Linked DNA regions of Homo sapiens: regions 1 and 2 are each linked to region 3. Evidence: promoter capture Hi-C in 16 types of primary human blood cells and fetal thymus (Javierre and others, 2016). All regions are on one chromosome and are shown on one strand. The core of a region is centred on a gene start or on the middle of the fragment in contact, and the rest is flanking DNA. Distances in the headings are between cores, read along the strand shown. Region 1 overlaps STX18 (syntaxin 18). Region 2 overlaps STX18 (syntaxin 18). Region 3 holds the start of MSX1 (msh homeobox 1).

Region 1 (4,313 bases), core at 1,576-4,075, 340 kb before region 3:
GCCTTTACAATTGACCACACAAACACAATACCACAATGTAGGTCAGCTTATGCACTCAAATGCCAAAGTGAAGCTTATAGGGAAGTAAACTACAGACATAAATCTGCAAGGGTAGAATTCCACCCAATGATCCTAAAATTATTTCAAGGAATCAATCTCCAAGTATGCATCATGAAATCAGAAGAGCCCAGTTAAGCTTTTAGAGCGGGGGAGGATAAAGAAGAAAGAAAGAAAATGAAAGACTTAAGAAGAGGCAGCAAAGGTTTCACCAATCATTATATCATTGAGAGGGCTCAAACTACAGATGAAGTTAGAATACAGATGATTGTAGAAAGGGTATTTAAAATTATTAACTGATCAAATATTTGTAGTTGTCATTAAAAAAAAAATACAACTTAGCAATTCAGTTCAGAAAGAAGAATATCCCCAGGAACATACACATCTGTTTAATATTACAAGCCAACTGTCAACATCCTAAGTGAAGTTTTAATTTAATATTTTTTCTTTCTTGATGTTTTACCTTTAATCAATGCCTCATGAGAGTATCAACTTTCTATAAGAAACTGTTAAATATAAAGAAATGTTATTGTAGCATGTTTATAAAATCATAGTTCGAGAACTTTTTATTTTTCCAAAGCCTGACCACAACTTAATTATCTGCAGGACATTCCAGGCTCACAATTGCAAGCTCCAGTTCCCAAGCAATTTTAAACAATATCTACTGTACAGGACAGAGGGTACACAAAAGACCGCAACATGGTTATATTTCCAAAAGTCAGCATTAGGCCCTTTAGACATGGTTTTTATTTTCATTAAACAATATTTGTTTCCTCACTAATCATTAAATGGTTTTCATCACTATTGCCTGCTTTCCTTTCACATGTCAGTTGTTAGCATCAGTGTTTGTGTTCATAATAAATATAAAAGTAATCCACCCCATCATTTAAAAATGAACACACACGACGTCTGGTTCAATGAGTGTTAAGAGACTTAGCAATATACTCACACCCTGAATACTGATCTATTTTAATCTAGACACTTAAAAAAACGTAATGGAGTAATAGACTATACAGCCCTCTCCTTTAAATCAGATTTAAGCTTCGTGCCTGCTTATGTTATTGTGGGCACACAGATCTAATCAGTGGTTCAAGACATTTACTTGGGAAAATGAAAGAAGAAGACAGTAAGTTCATATCCCTGACCATAATGGGGAGGAGTTGAGAATATTGCCAATTCCTTTAGATGCATGAGAAAACTAGCCTGATTAAAAGTAACACACTAGAAACTGACCGAAATGTGGAGGAGCAACTCACAGAGCACTCCAGAACTTTAGGAATAATTCTGAGAAAGTAAATTTTAAAAATAAATAAAAGCTGTATGCTATAAAGTATTAGGAACAATAAAAAATATGTGAAGTGTGGAAGAAACAAAGAAAAGTATAACAAAGTCAGAGGTAAAATTAATCATCAGTAGAAAAAAATAATCCAGCAAATAATCTGGAAAACCTTCAAGAAGTCAAGATACTTGCATTGTTGCATTGGAACTAGCAGAGTTTCCAGAAAATCAAATTATTTAAGTACAAATAAACTAATTTTGGATTTCAGATTAACTGGCCAGCAGCTATGTGAGTGCAGAGAGACAGAAATGTACAAACACATGTGTTTACTGGCGTATGTGTTTATCAAACATTCTATAGCACTTCTTATGTGCTAAGCACTTTCAAGGTGCTTTACTCAAATTAATTCTCCAAAATTAGGTACTACTTTATTCCCATTACATAGATGAGGAAATGAGGTTAAATATTTTATCCACAGATCAGTTGCAGGAGGTGGTAGAGCCCAGAGTCCATGCTCTTAACCATCATGGCACAAATCATTCCAGGTGACATTACCTCTAATCCAAGTAAAAACAAGCTTATTACTTGGAGGGATCCACAGGCCTACGTTCTCCATAGCTGCCTCCTCAGACTTCTTATTCTCTGCTGGCTTCTCAAATGTAGTCTTTTCCCAGGGACTACTCTGAGGCCCTCTTTTCTTCTGACTTGAAATTCCCCTTGGGTGATCCCACTCTTTCCTCAAGGCTTCAATCTCCATTTACATTCTGATGTCTTTTCCAGTCTAAATTCCTGGCTTAGAAATCTTTCCTCCAGTACATTTCTATATTTACAACTGCCTGGGAAACGTGTCCCTTGGGTGTTCAGCAGGCACCTCAAGTAACTACAAACCTGAACTCATCTTAACTACCTACCTATCACAATGAAAACCTCAAAGTCATCTATAACCACTGATTCACATCTCCTACATTGAACAAGTCCCAGCTCTTCTCAAATATATCGAGTCTACTCCCTAGCTCTATAGTAACGAGCTGAGTTCAGGTCCTTGCTGTATCTTGACTAGACTTGATTACTGCAACAGCTCAACTGGTCCTCCTCCTTGCTGCCAGTCCTTCTCACCTCTGCCGAATCCACCAACTGCCAGCAGAATGATCTTTCTCAAATACATACCTAACCACATTAGTCCCCTACTGAAAACTTTTTCTAGTGCACCATGGCCTTCGAGATAATGCCATTCCTCTCCCATTCTAGGGGAATCTCTTTTTACCCTTCAAGGCTTAACTCAAAACTCACCTCTCCTGTTATGCCCTCTCCCTTTAACCCCTCCCACTGAGTTCTTCACTTCCACCTGTGTCCACAGACACTTTGATAGCAGCACTTATTAGAACATGCTTTAGTTATGTGCCTCTAAGTCTATTTTTTTCCCTAGATTATGTGTTTCTCAAAGTCAGACATTGTCTCACTCACGTTTGTACACCTAATACCTAACCTAGTTGTATGCCTGGCATATAGTTGGTGCTTAACAGTAAGTGACTATGAGTAAGTGAATAAATAATTCATTCTCAGAGATACCTTCAGTTCAAAGTGGTATTTATAATGCCTAAAGCAGAGTGAATGGGCACAATTTTGAATGCAATGTACATCTCTTGTTGGCCACCCCCATGCATTGCTCCCCTCCTTCTGGGAACAGCTCCCCAAATTTCCTTTGGAAACAATTCGTCCCTGATTCTCAGCCAAATGTATTGGGTGGAAGTAACATACTGCATCAGATGCAGAGCTGGGTCCTAAATGGACCAAGCTAGGCAGTATATCCTTTTAGTGGCAACAGGAGTGGATTGAGGATAAGAATATCACTCAATTTGAGCCAGTAAGAGAAAGTGAAACCCAGTCAAGCAAAGAGCCTCTCTCTTCCTCCAGAGGGGGCATTATGAGAAAGTGAGGCCTGCAAGTGCTGCAGCTCAGTGGCTGCCACAAAGCAAGGGCGTTAGAGGCGCCTTAAAGGCGCCAACACTGTGTGTGCAAGGCAGAACAGAGGGAGTAAGAAAAACCAGGCCTGTGGTGACACTGTTTGGTTCACCGAGTCCAGCCATGCCAGAGGTTAAGTCATACCACTAGACTTTTCAGTGATATAAATCAATAAATTCCTTTGATCACTTAAGCTAATTTGTGTTGGATTCTCTGTAACTTATAACCTTAGTAAGACTTCTGATAAAGCAAGTTAGTGTTTATGGGAAGAAAATCAAGCCACACATTTGAAGAAATGTACAGAAAAAGGAGACAAACAGGGAGAGGGTGAGAGTGGACCGCAAATTAAATTTGATAGGATACGAAGAAAAGAAAAGAAAAGAAAAGAAGCTAACAAGGTACAACACAAAATAGAAGAATGAGATTCCAGATGTGGAAGGAAAGCTTTCCATTCCAGACAGCATCAGTCAGGCCCACATAGGGGTATCCTGTGGTACATTTATGAAAAGAATAAAGTTTTATAAAGAGCTAGAAAAAGAAATTTTAAAAGTAACCAATGTTTCTTTTTGAAAAGGCCTTTATGAGAAAAAAGAAAAGACTTTGGGATAATTTAATCTGGAGAAAGCAAATCCTAGAGGCAATTTAACTTGTTGAAGGGTTATTTATAAGGAGGTGACTAAACAGCTGTTCTCCAATTTCACAGGGAAAAGAATGAGAGGAAATTGATTTAAATTTCAGTATGAAGCTCAAGGCAGGCAAAGGAGAAGTGCTTGAGGGAGAACTGTTAATGATGAAAAAAACTAAATGGAAAACTGGATTTTTATGGCTTTTAAAAGATGGAAAATTACCTGTGTTGATTCATTTAGTTTGGGGGTAAAACTACTAAACAAATATTTGAGGTGTGCCTTCTGTTCATTTATTCAAATGCCATGTATGAATCCCTACTATGGGCCAGATGCTCTGCAAGGCACTAGGAATACAAAGACCAAGAAGATATGGTGTCTGTTCTGTCTAA
Region 2 (4,464 bases), core at 1,019-3,518, 370 kb before region 3:
AAAATCAGAGCTCATTCTTAGAAATAAGAACCTTCTTTCGAACAGAAAGAATTTTCCACAGAGTATAGGTGGTACTCTTTGTGATAAATGAATCACGCACATTTAATTGACTTTTGAATTGTGTGCATAGAAAGTTAAGTACTTTGTTGGAAAGGATTCGCTCAGGGACTATATTCACTGAAAACTTTTCATAAGAAAAGAAAGTGAAACACAGGATTCAAACAGTGTTTGTAGATTATCTGAGTGTGAGCAAGAAAAAAAGCATAAAGAAAAGCATTTGACAATAACAATTAGGAGAATCACTCATGGGGAGGTCACTTTGTTTTTATTAGGAAACTGAAAATATTTTTCAGCGTGCCTTAGTATGACGATGCATCAACACATCATAAATCAAATTTCATTTTGTGATGACTATCACTTTCTATTTCACATGCATTAAAAAAGAGACATGTTCTGAATTCTGCTTATCACCATATGACTAAGAAGTTTATTTCAGATTTAGAAACCAGTCGAGGATGTCTGGGGCAGTCAACAATGCTCTGCTTAGCCACTCTCTTCCCTAGTAGTCTGAAAAAAATGTGTGCATTTAAGAGATGGTAATAACAAACTCCTCAAATATTTTTAAAATGTCAAAGTTTTTAAGGCTTATAAAATTCAGATTCTGGGCAAATCTGTGTACTTCCAAATTTAACTTACATGAGATTTAAAATTCATGGCTTCAGATTTTTCTCTGCATAATAAATAATTTTAAAAGTTATTCACATTCTGATTCCATTATATTTTTAAAAACCCACTTATTTGGAAAAAAAGATATTGCTGATCATGTCATACAATATTAAATATCCATAAAGTGCTCAGAAAGTGTACTGTAAACACCAAGTAAAGTCAAACTGCAAATATTTCTGCTTTCAGACAATCAAAGTCTTTGGAGAGGCCTGAAATAGGTGTTTCTCTACACACATTTAGGCACCACTAAAAATGCTAAACATTATCATTTTCTCTAAGCAACCCCAATTTTTGGAAAAGGCACAGGCATTCCCAACCCCCCCGCCCCCTCCACTGCCCATGGTTAATTTCATAGTCCTACAAAGAGAAAATTTACTAGGCACTTCAGGGAATCAAGACATCGTGGTACACGTAATGAGTTGCAGAAAGAGACAGAAAGTGATTAGGAATTGTAAATAGTAAGAATAGGTAGTTTCCACTGTATTTAATTGACACCACAGCATATTCACCTGGTAGTTCTAAAAATGATTCCTCTATGATTAAAAAAAATTGTTTTTGTTTAGGTGGGAGAAATATTGATTCAAATGACGCATCTTATTATCTTCATTGTAGGCTGCACACTTCCACAGCAATTGGTCCTCCAAGTAAACAGTACCTATCATGAATTTTCACTTTTAATTCAAATTATAATAATCAATGATACTAGAAGTCTAAATCTATACTAAAGCATCAATAGAAAATATTGTTAATAATGGTTTTAAAATAAGCGCAAAGCATAATGCTGTTTTGAAGTTTTTACAGTATGCTTAGAAAAACAAAATGTAGGTGTTCTACTAGAAATGTAGCTGGAATATCTTCATTCCCCTCTGTTTTTAACCTTATACATGCAAGAAATTATGAAGATACAACAGCCTCATTTTCATGGGAAAACAGAACTGGAAAGAGGTTCGTGGGCTTTCAATCACATGTGGTTTGAATGTCTTTAACTCTTTTCCCTCTCATGCAAGAAAAGTCAACAAGGTAAATATATGTTATTTTTCAGTACCTCCATAAGCCCATATCCCATGGTGGTATCCTTTAGGATTTTATCTCAAAGTCTTACACTGGGGTCAGGTAAGCTAGGCCTACAAAATTGTTTTGAGGGTTACATAACATATACATGAGCACACTGAAGTGATAGAGAAGACAAATGCTACGAAGTAAAAACTGATAATGATCACAGCACCAAGAAAGTATTTATTAACTATTTGTACACTACATATTGTACAGTACATATATTTGGGCTCACAGTGTACCCTTGGTCAAGTTCCTTCTCCAGGCTTCAATCCTTGCTAATAAAATGAAGAGACTGCATTCCCTGATCCCTAAGGTCTAGTCCAGCTCCCCAAATTCCCTGGCTTCTTGCATTTGACTGAAGACTGAACAGCATACTTTCAAGTGATTTTTCATATCCAAGTCTCGGTGCTGTGCTTCACTTACAAGGCAATGGATTTAGCATTCATTTCTGATGACTACATTACAGAGCATATTCCATATTTCATTGAATCTTCACAAAAGTCCTCTAATATTATCACTTCTCCCATTTTATAGGTAAGAACAGTGTGGCTCAGATATGTTAGAGTTGCTATTTAATCCTAGATCTCTCTTATTAACTATCCTTGTTCTTCCCCTGATGCAAAAATAACAATATATTGAATCACATGCTGAGGAATTAACAATCAAGCTCCAGGTTACCTGTAAAATGCTTTGCGCAGGTTACATACAGGTGGGAAGCATCTCCCTGTCTCCATGGTGCCTGTCTTACAGAGCTAAACCAAAAAGCTGTGTGTCCTTAATTGCAAAAGGTCATTAGGAGCCCCACGTGTGCCAAGAAATCAAGGAAAGAAGAGATTACAAAGGTCTAGAAAACAGAGAGAGAGTGACTTTTAACCTGAAAGCAGGAGAAGAGGGAAGATCTGATTGGTCTCATGTAGGGCCCTGTAAAAATTATTTATCCCTTCCCCACCCTGCTCCATAAGGCCCCTGGATGATTCTAATGTACAATCAGGGTTGAGAACCACTGATGTAGGAGCCAGAGGAAAGAGGTTGAGCATGGACTTTGGAATCAGACTGCCTGGATCTAATGCAGGCTGACATTCATGAATTATACAGCATTCCAAACTTACTTAACCTGTCTTTGCCTCAGTTTCCTCACTTGTAAAATAGGAAAGATATAGTACATGCCTCAGAGTGTGTGTGAGGATGAAATGCAAAGGGCCTAGAAAAGTGCCTGGCATATATAAGTTCTAGGCTAATATTGGAAGACCTCAAATGTCTAGTGAAGGATTTCTGTAAGCCAACAATGTTAAAATGTTCTCTTACAAATGATGGGGACGCAAGATGGCAGCTTTTCTTCTTTCTTTCCTGTCTTTCTTCTCTCTCTCTTTCTCTCTTTCTTTCTGAGACAAGGTCTTCCTCCATCACCCATGCTGCTGTGCTGTGACATGATCATACCTCAATGCAGCCTCAAACTTCTAGGCTCAAGCAACCCATCTGCCTCAGCCTCCCAAGTAACTGGGACTACAGGCACGCGTGTCTGGCTAATTTTTTTTCTTTTCTTTTTTTTTTTTTTTTTTTGAGAGACGAGGTCTTGCTATGTTGCCCATGCTGGTCTCAAACTCCTGGCCTCTAGAGATCCTCCTGCCTTGGCTTGCTTTCTTTTATATTTAAATTGTACAACTAAACGCAAAAACAAAGATAATCTTGTATTAGTCCACCTCCAGCACCTCCCCCAGACCAAATTTTTAAACAGGAAAATGATCTAATAAAATTCATTTTTAGGCAAATGAATTTTGTTGAGTAAACTCAAACAAGTTTTTAATCCTAGTGCAAAGAAATGGAACAAGTTAAAATGCAAAATAGAATAGCAGAGCAGTGGTACTATCTGTCCATATTCACATTACAGGCTCTAAAAATTATTCATGTTTGAAATACTGGGAAGGTGAATAAGAGCATCTATGATTATCGGATAACGCAATTTTTTAATCCTATAGTTGAACTATATTTCCTCAAGTAATGTACCTTCATTAAGACACGTTAAACTTTCCATATACACTTTCAAAAATGAGATTTCTCTTTTTATAAATTCTTTACATTTCCAAGAGAAAGGTAAAGCAAACAATCTAAGATCCTCCATTTAAAAATGAAGAAACTGAGTGTCAGAGGGACTTGCCAAAGCTGCCAATAAGCGAGATGAACACTGATTTCTTAAATAGCAACGCCAGTGGTAAGGTAACAGAGAGGCCTAGGCAGCAGGATGAACTGGCACCCAAAAATCGCTGAGGCTCTCACAACTTGATAATCCCCCATCTCCAAACACAGTCCAGTGAGATCCTGTGTCTTGGTTATGAGAACAACCTCACAGCTGATCACTGTCTCCTGCTGAACCACTGCAGCCAACCCGCCATCAAGTCCTCCAGCTTCTACATCTTTAAGGGCTCCTAAATTCACCCCCTTTCGCTCACCCCATCAGCCTCGCTCTTGGATTCCTCACTTGTGGCCCTGTCTTTGCAGTCTCTACCCTTTCTAATGCAACATCCACTCTCCCACACCACCCACTGAGCTTACCCAAGCCTTTGCGCTAAGGAGGAAAAGCTGAGGCCTAACATATTTGTGCTATTTTATAATCAGGAGCTTCTGCATGTCATTCTTCAGCCTTGGATGGTGCTGCCCAATCCAACTGTGGGTAGAAAGGTTGAC
Region 3 (4,265 bases), core at 518-3,017:
TACCCTCTCGGGCAAACCTCCGGAGGCCCCGGTGCACCGCGCGTCCAGCCGGCCCAACTCGAGCTAGAAGCCCCAACCACTGCCCAGTGCCTGAGTTGCAGTCTTGGGTCCTTTAGAAACCTGGAGATGTGCGTAAAATTCAGATGCCGGTATTCCCGAACTTCCCCAGGCCTCAGCATATCTCGGCGGCCTGTGGACAGATGGGAGGCTACCAATCGCTCCGGCGTCCGCAGCCCGACCCCTGCCGCCAGACCCCGGACGTCTTCCGGATAATAAAGTTCCCGCTCTAATTCATTTTCCCTAATCTGGACGCCCCTAATCTACAGCTTTTATTGCGCCCAGTTAAAAGTCGAGGGAATTCGCTGTCCCTCCGCGCTCGGATAATTACCCCTAAATGGCCACGGCAGCCCCTTGTGTTTCCTGGAGATTAGAACCCCGCAGTCATCAATGGCAGGGCCGAGTGAGCCGCCAATCACCTCCGCTCACTCCCTGAGAGCCGCTGGCCTGGGCCGCAGGAGGAGAGGCCATAAAGCGACAGGCGCAGAAAATGGCCAAGCCCCGACCCCGCTTCAGGCAGATCTTGCATCTCCCCTGACCCCAACTCATTTTTTCTGTCTTTATTATTATTATTATTATTAACAGCAAACATTAAATCACGTTTTCTCCGAAATTGGCAAAAGAAGAGTTCTCAAGTCCCACACTAGAGTCCACCTCCAGGAACTTTCCTCTTTTCCCAGCCCCCTCCCCCAAATGTGCCTCTCCCCTCCAGGATCAGCGGCCCAGAGATAGGGACATGTCATTGTTTCCGAGGACGCGTTGTTTGAGGTCACCTTAAGGCCAGATCGGTGTTTCATTGACGATTCTGTTGGTTTTATTTCAGTAAGTTCTATATCAAAAGGATCTGGCAGCTCCTTTCCCCGCCCGGGCGCTATAGGTGTTGTGACCCTTGGGACAGAAGTTCAGAGCGAGGGTGGGGGGGGGGGAATACACATCGTGTATGAAAACCGACTGCAGATTCTAGATAATCTTACGTATTCTCACATCCTTGGCACTACAGGAAGCTAGCTTCTTCCCGCAAGGTTTACTCCAGCTCTAAGTTAGAGACAAAGGCCCACTTTTACCTCGAGGTAAAGTTTACAAGATTTCAGAACAGGAAGAAAATGAAGGTTTGGTTTTGTTTCGTTTCTTGAAAAGAAGTTAATAGTATGTCTTTCTCCTAGGATAAATAGCCATGCGTATTTTAAAAACTATATATAAAAGGAATGTGTAAGAAATAACCTCAACTCAAATTATTGTGGTAGAAGAAGAGGGGGGGTCAGACAGTGGAGGGGGGCACAGGGAAACCCAGCCACAGACTAAAGAGAAAGGTAAAAGAAGCAGTAGAGGAGAGAAACAAGGACGGGGAAAAAAAGAGGAGCGGAAAAGAGGGCTGAGGAGGGGAGGGGAGGGGAGGAGAGGAGGGCAGAAGAGAAGGAACGAGAACAAGGGAAAATCCCCCGGGAACACAGAAAGATAGAGACCCAGGGGACTCCCGCAGAGAGGGCCTCTTGGGCTTCAGCGCAGAGGAAAGTTTCCCGGGCACCCCCTCTCCTCCCCTGCCCTCCGCCGCCTGGGCCCTGCCCTGCGTGCCCCCAGGCCCAGCGCGCCTCCGGGCGAGTCCCCAGGAGCGCGGCCCAATGGATCGCTCCGGGCCCGCCCCCTCGCGCGCTGATTGGCCGCCGCCCCGCTGGCCTCGCCTTATTAGCAAGTTCTCTGGGGAGCCGCGGTAGGGCCCGGAGCCGGCGAGTGCTCCCGGGAACTCTGCCTGCGCGGCGGCAGCGACCGGAGGCCAGGCCCAGCACGCCGGAGCTGGCCTGCTGGGGAGGGGCGGGAGGCGCGCGCGGGAGGGTCCGCCCGGCCAGGGCCCCGGGCGCTCGCAGAGGCCGGCCGCGCTCCCAGCCCGCCCGGAGCCCATGCCCGGCGGCTGGCCAGTGCTGCGGCAGAAGGGGGGGCCCGGCTCTGCATGGCCCCGGCTGCTGACATGACTTCTTTGCCACTCGGTGTCAAAGTGGAGGACTCCGCCTTCGGCAAGCCGGCGGGGGGAGGCGCGGGCCAGGCCCCCAGCGCCGCCGCGGCCACGGCAGCCGCCATGGGCGCGGACGAGGAGGGGGCCAAGCCCAAAGTGTCCCCTTCGCTCCTGCCCTTCAGCGTGGAGGCGCTCATGGCCGACCACAGGAAGCCGGGGGCCAAGGAGAGCGCCCTGGCGCCCTCCGAGGGCGTGCAGGCGGCGGGTGGCTCGGCGCAGCCACTGGGCGTCCCGCCGGGGTCGCTGGGAGCCCCGGACGCGCCCTCTTCGCCGCGGCCGCTCGGCCATTTCTCGGTGGGGGGACTCCTCAAGCTGCCAGAAGATGCGCTCGTCAAAGCCGAGAGCCCCGAGAAGCCCGAGAGGACCCCGTGGATGCAGAGCCCCCGCTTCTCCCCGCCGCCGGCCAGTGAGTAGCCAGAACCCAGGCGCAGAGGGAGGGGGCCGGGTGGGGGCCGGGTGGGGTGTGGGACCCGAGGGCTCCTGGTGGCCTCCGGCGCCTGCGTACCTGCAGCCGGTGCTAGGGAGCCGTGGGCTGCAAGGCCGGGTCTTGCGCCTCCCTCCACTCCCACCCAGGAAGAAGGTTCCAGACCTCCTCGCCTTGGCCCAGAGACGCTGCGGGTGGGAGTTAACGGATAGGACACCGATGTCTGGGCACCCTGTCCTCCTGCCCCCACCAAACGACCTCAGGGGTCCATGATCCCTCATCTGATCCCAAACTCTGTTTCATCGGCTTCACCCCAGCGGATGAATGTGTGTGGTGCGGTATCTTCCCTGCACCCGGAGTTTCACTTTCTCGCAGTAGGAGCTGGTGTCCCCCAGCCCCTCTTCCCTTTCAAGTACCTCTTTGCCTAGAGGTTCCGAAGCTCCTACAGAATTCTACCTCCCCATGCCCTTTGAGTTTGAGGCAGATAGTTGGTGCTTTGGGCGGATGGATGATTCAGGGGTGGGGACATTCAGGTTCCAGTGGAGGGGGCGGGGCACCAAGTCAATTAGGGGAAGGCGCCCCCGCTAATCCTATGGGAAGCTCCCAAACGTCTAGGACTGAGCCATTAAAGTGGACTCCAGGTGCCCAAGGCGGTTCGCTCCAAGGCCTCACGGCCCCCTGGCTGCTCTACTCAGAGAACACGCTCGGAGATATTTCAGGAGCACGGGAAATTCCCAAGTTTTCCTCGTTTCCTCCGATTATTTTGCTCGGCATAATAGCAGCCAGATTTCAATGGCGTGATGCTGAGGAATGATTTTTATCTGGGGATTAAACGTCTTTGAAAGGCCAGTCCCTCCCTAAGCCTAATGGCCGGAGAAGGTGGCCCCGCTCTGGGTTGTCGCCGCTGAAGGGAGTGACGTTTCTCTCGGCGCCCGCCCCTCGGGCGGCCCGGCGGAAAGCTAGTTGGGGGCCAAGCGCTTCCCGGACTCCCGGTGGCCTCCAGCAGGGAAGAAGCGGGGTGTTAACACGAGATTTCGTTTGACTCACATCCTGGTGGTCTGAAAGTCCAAAGGATCGTTGTGTTTTCTTTGTTTTGTTTTGTTTTTTCTGTTTGTTTGTGGTTGTTTTTTAGAGAGGTGTGAAAAAATGCATACTTAGGCAAAACCCGCGTGGTGAAACATCTTCGATTTGAATTCACTTTCTGCCGGGAAAGCTGCTGCATAGGCAAAGTGTCCTTTCCAACGCTTAGGGCCTTGGGCCCCAAGACCCCGAAGTCAAAGCGATCCCGGCTGTGTTGGGATAATTTGTTCCACATTTTATCCGGGGGCAGTCCCCAGCAGACCCCATCCCCGACCTGCACTAGTCCTGCGCTCTGATGCTTCTTCACTGTCCACCCTTGAGGTTTATTTTGAAGCCAAAAGAAAAAGACAGCTGGGCATGTTGATGTCTGCTGACTATGCCACAGGTTGAGGGGAGAGGCGATCTCAACACTCCCCCCGCAACAACATCAACACACACACACACACACACACACAAACGTTTGAGTGGGGCCAGAGGGCCCTGGCGCCAGGGGTGAACGCGATCCAACAGAGGACTGAGACAATCTAAAGAAAAAGCCCATTAGAATAAAGCAGCCCCTCGTTCTCCGCTCCAGATGACACTTTCTGTTTCTAAGAGGGCTGGCCACAGTGCACCCTCCATGATGGTCTGCGCTGCTCCATCTCTGGTCTGCGGGAACTACTCCTAGAATCCCGTAGGAGCGAAGTGTTCCGGGGA

The links. Contacts are between HindIII fragments. The CHiCAGO score rates a contact against its expected background, and 5 or more counts as called.
Region 1: a fragment that was not itself captured here is called in contact with the fragment with the promoter of MSX1 in region 3 in 1 of 17 cell types (total B cells); the score reaches 5.6 in total B cells.
Region 2: a fragment that was not itself captured here is called in contact with the fragment with the promoter of MSX1 in region 3 in 1 of 17 cell types (total B cells); the score reaches 7.1 in total B cells.

Annotation. Positions count from the first base shown.
Region 1 is chr4:4,521,292-4,525,604 of GRCh38, forward strand. The region is part of intron 1 of STX18 (syntaxin 18); the gene reads right to left. Among named protein-coding and RNA genes, the nearest start is that of STX18, 19 kb to the right of the region's middle. RefSeq lists an enhancer at 1-1,032. The HindIII fragment of the contact is 1,829 bases long and covers 1,912-3,740 here.
Region 2 is chr4:4,492,241-4,496,704 of GRCh38, forward strand. All of the region lies in intron 1 of STX18 (syntaxin 18), which reads right to left. Among named protein-coding and RNA genes, the nearest start is that of STX18-IT1, 13 kb to the left of the region's middle. The HindIII fragment of the contact is 4,618 bases long and covers 1-4,464 here.
Region 3 is chr4:4,857,898-4,862,162 of GRCh38, forward strand. MSX1 (msh homeobox 1) reads left to right here and starts at 1,768. Exons shown (of 2, transcript NM_002448.3): 1 at 1,768-2,471. The coding sequence starts at 2,003. RefSeq lists silencers at 1,590-1,649, 1,670-1,909, 1,920-2,359. The HindIII fragment of the contact is 17,724 bases long and covers 1-4,265 here.